2 separate regions of the Homo sapiens genome follow, and region 2 is linked to region 1. Evidence: promoter capture Hi-C in human tissues and cell types (Jung and others, 2019). All regions are on one chromosome and are shown on one strand. The core of a region is centred on a gene start or on the middle of the fragment in contact, and the rest is flanking DNA. Distances in the headings are between cores, read along the strand shown. Region 1 holds the start of NPY (neuropeptide Y). Region 2 overlaps LOC107986777 (a long non-coding RNA gene).

The links. Contacts are between HindIII fragments. The study calls those that stand out against the background at their distance.
Region 2: a fragment that was not itself captured here is called in contact with the fragment with the promoter of NPY in region 1 in 1 of the 25 tissues and cell types used here (hippocampus).

Annotation. Positions count from the first base shown.
Region 1 is chr7:24,282,563-24,285,813 of GRCh38, reverse strand. NPY (neuropeptide Y) reads right to left here and starts at 1,624. Exons shown (of 4, transcript NM_000905.4): 1 at 1,539-1,624; 2 at 386-573. The coding sequence starts at 573. All of the region lies in intron 2 of LOC107986777 (a long non-coding RNA gene), which reads left to right. The HindIII fragment of the contact is 14,633 bases long and covers 1-3,251 here.
Region 2 is chr7:24,230,644-24,233,894 of GRCh38, reverse strand. The region is part of intron 2 of LOC107986777 (a long non-coding RNA gene); the gene reads left to right. Among named protein-coding and RNA genes, the nearest start is that of NPY, 52 kb to the left of the region's middle. The HindIII fragment of the contact is 4,172 bases long and covers 1-3,251 here.

The sequences.
Region 1 (3,251 bases), core at 375-2,874:
CTAGCGTTTCCCCCTACAGCATTTCTCTGGCGCATTCTTGCCCCTTTCACTGGGTACTTTCGAGATTTCTGGACCGGGCCCCACTGCCGTAAGAACCACAACAAACCATAAGAGGTGAGTGAGAGGAGATTGCCAGCCTACCAGCCTGGGGAACCTGAATCTGGGGATCACGACTCTGTGACTGTAGTTGCACAAAATGGAAGGTACCCATTTTGTGTAGAGTGTGCCCTGTACAAACATTTACCTAGAGCTGACTAAGTGCCTGATACTGTCCTGCCCTGGGATAGAGCGAAGGAAAAGAAACAATCCCTTTCCCTAACATCCCCAGGATCTCCTGGTGTGCAGGCACTGGCGCTCCCGGAATCGGTCCCGCGGTCCCACCCACCTCTGCCTGGTGATGAGGTTGATGTAGTGTCGCAGCGCCGAGTAGTATCTGGCCATGTCCTCCGCTGGTGCGTCCTCGCCCGGGTTGTCCGGCTTGGAGGGGTACGCCTCGGCCAGCGCACCCAGGCACACGAGCAGGGACAGGGCGAGGGTCAGTCCGGACAGCCCCAGTCGCTTGTTACCTAGCATCTGCAGGCACAGAAGGCTCAACGGACGGGCTTGGGGATTCAGAGCACCCACGCGCAGCACCTCCCTCCTCTGCCCCCCGCGCTCCTCCTCCTGCTACCACACGCGACCCCCAATCCGCTCTCGTCCCAGTCCCGCAGAGAGAACCCAGGAGTGGCTAGCACCACCTTGCGGGCTCCGGGCGCCGTCCGGTCGGGACCTGCCCCTCTGCTCCACCTGAAAACTTCGCGCAACTTCGTTCGAAGTCTCAGGGACCAAGAAGCGCGCGGCGAGAGTGCAAGGTGGGGGCCCCGCCAGTTTAGCATTCAAAACCGAATTGGAAGTTCTTCCTGCTGGGTCACTTTTCTCCCTTCTTGCCCAAACTCTTGTCTGGGAAGAAAAGTTTCTTCTCTGTTACTTCTGGTCTGCCTAGCTTCAGGGGATCAACGCTGACAGCAGAGATCACCTCGGGGTGACGACTGCGGTGGGGAAGGGGAAAGAGAATTGCTCCCTGGGCCAGAATTGCTCCAAAGAGATTTGGAGCCCAAGAATCCAGGGAGGTGGCAGGGCGCGGGGCTCTAGAGCTCCAGGGATTCCTCACTCGATGGCGCTGCCGGGGAAACCTTCCTACCGCGCACCGCTTCCTGGGCCTCAAGGCGGCGACCCGCAGGGAGACCGCCAGCTGCCTTGGGATAGCGGTCCCGGGTTCTCCCTCCATATCTGCTAAAAGGTAACTCAGAAGAACCGCCCAGCGGGAAGGGCCCGGGAGAAGGGCCGTGGACAATCAGAGGGGAGCAGAGGAACAAGTGGAATTTAGCCGCCAAGAGGGCTGGTCCGCGTCGGGGCGCGGAGCCGGCATAGTCCGCTGGGGAGTGGAGCGCGATCATCCCAGGGCCCCAGGGCTCCACAGAGCGGGAGGCTGCGTCTCTAGCAAGTTCGCGGGCGCCCCGTTCGCTCCCACCCCTAGACAGACGGGTCGTAGCACTCACGGTGGCTGGCGCGCGGGCGTGGCTGGGCGGCAAGTACTATGCTGTCGGGCGAGCGTCTCCGAGGGGTGAGAGCCAGCGGATGGGGTGCAGAGAGCGGGTCGCGACAGGGCTTTTATGGAGCTTCCTCGCCGCGGCAGGAGGGGCCTCGGGCAGTCACGCTTGGGTGACTCCCACCCGCCACTTCCCGCCCCTGAGTGGCGGGGGGAGGGGGCTGGAACCGCAGCCGCACGAGTGTCGACTTAGGGAGCCACCCACACCCCAACCCTCCCGCCCCAGGCACTGCCTGAAGAAGCGGGGCCTGGGACCGCGTGAGCGAGGCAGCGCACTCCGAGCGCGCTGGACAACACCAAAGCCCAAGTATCTGCCCTCGGGCAGTGCCCGATCCCTGCTTTCCTTCTTTCCTTCTTTCCTTCACGCCCCGTCTAGTCCTGCCAGAGATAGGAGCAGCCCAGACGATTCTTGTCTCCTGCCAACAGGACTACCAACCCACTGGGTGCCGGAGTAGGAAGCACCTGAATCCTCTTTGTGGTGGGGCATCTCCACGACTAGCGCGGCATCCTCGCCGGGCACAACTGCGCGCTGTTGGAGTGAGGCAACTGGGCGCACAGATTTTTCCTGTACTTAGAACAAGTCGGAGGCAGCTGCCGGAAGTCTCCGGCTAGAGGGTCCCAAAGCTGCGCTCCCCACCCCACCCCCGCCCGTGGTTTCAGGGGCTTCTGCCCCTTCTCTCAGCTGGTTTTTCTAGATCAGCCTTCCTCAAGTACTCGCTCAGACGCAGCGAGCCAGGCTCGGTCGAGACATGAGTGTGGCGACTCAAAATTCCCCAGAGGGGGAACACGGTAAACCTATTCCCCCAGTTTGCTGAAAAAGAGCCACGCTTCCAGCTTCTAGAGACTCTTTTAAGCTCAATTTTAAAAATATATATTTTTTCTTTTTTGGTCCAAAGTGACGGTGGTTAAATGAACAACAGTTTCTGTCTTATTTACTAACCCTTGTATAGTCCTATGTACGTTCAATTAACGTTGAGAATGTGGGTTCTGATTAAGATGAAACATGTTAAAAACGATGAACATTAATTTGCTCATCGCGTTAAACCTGTTGAATGAATATGCAAGATACAGAAACTATTATTACAGGATCAAGATTTTATGCAGTGGACTGAGATCTGAAAGTTCCGTGAATGAATGCTCCTGTATCTTTCTAAATAAAATGGCATTTTATTTCTAAATGAAATATAAGTCTGAATCTTTCTAAATAAAAAGGCATGTTGGGAAATTAAAGCATTAAGTTCCATGTTATTTTAATGCTAAAAGGACAAGTGATTCTGTTAAACTGACACTTAGTTTTTGTGCTGTTCCAACAGCATTGAATTAAATATCAAAAACCGTGAAGCAAACAATCCTTTGCATGTATGTGTTTGTGTGTTTGTGGGATCAAACTATAATTTTGGAGACCAACATCCCTTTCACTTGGCAACTGCTTCTCTTTCTGTATTACACAAACATATGCTGAGGACACAAAAATCAAGGCTCTCAGAGTTGCTCGGGGGTGCTTACAAGACACAGCCTTCGGTAAAAGTGCAAAACATCTTCTAACTTAGAGCTCTTCCTAGATAAAGGGAAAGTTACAGTCCACTTTTCAATAAAATAATCTTATTTTAGAGTGTATCACAGATTCATATCAATTAAAATCTGAACTTAAAATGTATCACTG
Region 2 (3,251 bases), core at 350-2,849, 52 kb after region 1:
AACAATGGAAAGTTCCAAAAAGTCAGCAGTGGGGCCAACATTATCCATAGGCAGCTGCCTACATAAGTGATTTCATGGGCACTGGAAGGATTTCCCAAAACAACTCCTTTCTGCTCTTAGGTGCCTGGAATGCCCTTAAAGGAGAGACTCTGATTAGGTATTTAAAATGAAGACTTAATATGCAGACAACTTGGAACAAGGTAACTCACTGACTCATATCCAGTGGTTGACACAAGAATATTTTCTGGGAGCAGATTTGGAGGTGAACACACAGAGATGCAGATGGCAGGAAGGAGGCAGAGAAAGAGACGCTGAAAAGGAAGGTGGTGGTTGGCAGGAGGCTGGATGGTTCTAGGACTAGCGCCAGGAGAGGTCATGGAATTTGTTTCCCCAGCAATATATTCTGGCTGAAATGGCTTCCATATCCTCCTGTTTGAACAAATGCAGGTGGCCTAAAGGATTTCTCAGGGATGCTTTTTTTCTTTTTTGGTGTACATTTCTATGAATTTTAACACATGTATAGATTCATGTGAACACTGCCATAATCAGGATAAAGAACAGCTCTACCACCTCAGTAAAGCACCTCATGCTGTATTTTGTGGTCATCACCTTCCCCACCTATAATCCCTGGCAACCTCTGACCTGTCTTCCAGTGCTTTTTTTGAGACCATCAAATAAATAGAATAATACAATCTGTAAATTTTTGAGACTAGCTTCCTTTTACTAAGCATAGTGTTATCCAGGCTGTCATGTGTATCAATAGCTTGTTCCTTTTTACTGCTGAGTACAATTTCATTGTATGTATCTACCACGGCCTATTTATTCATCCATTAGTTGAAGAACATTTGGATGGTGGAAGAGAATATCTTTGTCTTATTCTGAATTAAGGGGCATTCAGTCTTTCAGCATGGAGTAGGATGTTAGCTGTAGGGTTTTTGTAGACACCCTTTACAGAGTTGGGGAAGTTCTCTTTTATTCTTAGTTTGCTGAAAGTTTTTACCATGAATACATGTTCTAGTTTGCCAAATGCTTTTTCTGCTTCAATTAATATGATCATGTGTTTCTTTCTTCTTCATACTGATAGTTTGACAGTTCCATTGATTCATTTTTGATGAACAAACCTTACATTCTTGGGATAAATTGCCCTTGCCATGGTGTATTGTTCCTTTTAATGTATTGTTGGATTTGAATTTGTTGATGAATGTTGCTGAAATATTTTGTTGATTGTGTTTGTGTCTATGTTCATGAAGGATACTGGTCTGAAATTTTATTGTACTGTCTTTGCCCAGTTTTGGTACCAAGGTAATGCTGGCTTCATAAAATGAGTTGTGAAATGTTCCCTCTTCTTTTGTTTTCTGGAAGAGAATGTGTAGAATTAATGTTATTTCTTCTTTAAATGTTTGATAGAATTTGCCCACCAAACCATTTGGGCCTGGAGATTACTTTTTCAGGAGGTCTTTATCTAAAAATTTATTTGTAGATAAATTATTTATTTTATTTATTTTTTGATAAAAGTACAGATATAGTACTATTCAGGTTATCTATTTCATCAAAGATGAGTTTTGATAGTTTGAGGAATTACCTCATTAAATCTAAGTTGCCATATTTATATGTGTAGAGTTGCCTGTCGTATTGCTTGCTATCCTTTTAATGTCTGTGGGGCTTGTAATGATTTCCTCTCTTTCATTTATGATCATGGTAATTTGTTTCTTTTTTGTCTCTTTTCTCTTTCTCTCCTTTTTCTATCAGTCTTGCTAAAAACTTACCATTTTTGTTGCTCTTTCCAAAAAAACCAAGCTTTTGTCTCACTAGTTTTGCTTTTCTGTTTTCAACTTCATTTACTTCTGCCATTTATTTTTTTTCTTCTGTTTGCTTAGTTTTATTTTGCTCTTATTTTCTACTTTCTTAAGGAGAAATTTCCATTGTTGATTTGAGACTTTTTTCTTTTCTAATATAAGCATTTAATGGCTTACATTTTCTGCAAAGCACTTATTTCCCGGAGCCCTCAAATTACTCCTCACTGCCTTCTTTCCAAGATTTGTAACTGCATTCAGCAGGAGACACAAGGTGTGGTATGCTTCCTCTGTCTGACCCAGAACTGGCTAGTCTTTGAAAATAAAATTTTTCTAGGAATTTTCTGCCAAAGAAAATTCCTCTATTTCCAAGCACACACACCAGCAAGATAAAAGTATGGCATTTTTCTGGTGGTTTGCCAGAAGTGCATGCTTAAAGCTAATGGCTACCAAGATAAACTTTTTTTCATGATTGGTGCTTAGCTTTTGAACAATTTATTATTATTATTATTAATTATTCCTCCAAACTTCTGTTATAGAGGATATATTGTTAACCTCTCTTTAGAGAAGAAAGCCAATGCCCTCACAAGAGACATCTTTTGGATGGAGTGTCTAAAGGCTCAGTCAAGCCCCCAATTCAAATGGCACAGGAGAAAAAAAATTGATCCCCCGTAGACATTCCTATGGCCTACCTAGTTTGTTCTCTAATCCATTTGGCTTGACCTAGAAGTAGCAAGTCAGTTCCAATGAATTGAGATAGGGAATCTCACTGCACTATTTGTTTTCCAGTGTTTGTAAAGGAAAAAAGTCAGGGAATGAGCCAGGATTATGCTTCGGAATCCCGAGGCCTCTGGCTCTTGCTCTTTATTCTCCTTCGTCAATGATACAAGGATACCTTGTAATCGCTCTGTCTCCACCTCAGCCACATATGTTTTAATATTTAGTATTTGCATTGGCTAGGAAAGCATCATTTCCACTGCTAATCTATCTGTGTAGTCATGGCCAAGATTTTCTTTGTTAATTCATATAGAAATCAATATAGGCTGGTGCAGTGGCTCATGCTTGTAATACCAGAACTTTGGGAGGTAGAGGCAGGTGGATGACTTGAGCTCAGGAGTTTGAGACCAGCCTGGGCAACATGGTAAAACCCTGTCTCTACTAAAAATATAAAAATTAGCTGGGCATGGTGGCTCATGCCTGTGGTCCCAGTTACTGGGGAGGCTGAGGTGGGAGGATCTCTTGAGCCAAGGAGATAGAAGCTGCAATAAGCTGTGATCACGCCACTGCACTCCAGCCTGGGCAACAGAATGAGACCCTGTCTCAAAAAAAAAATATTATAAACAGTGCACAATCACTCAGATGAATGTGTGAGGCCCCGCCTTATATACATCAGCCCCTGAAATCCCACATTTTGTCACAATGGTATAGGCTGAGTCTTTCCATTAGTGAAGACAGACT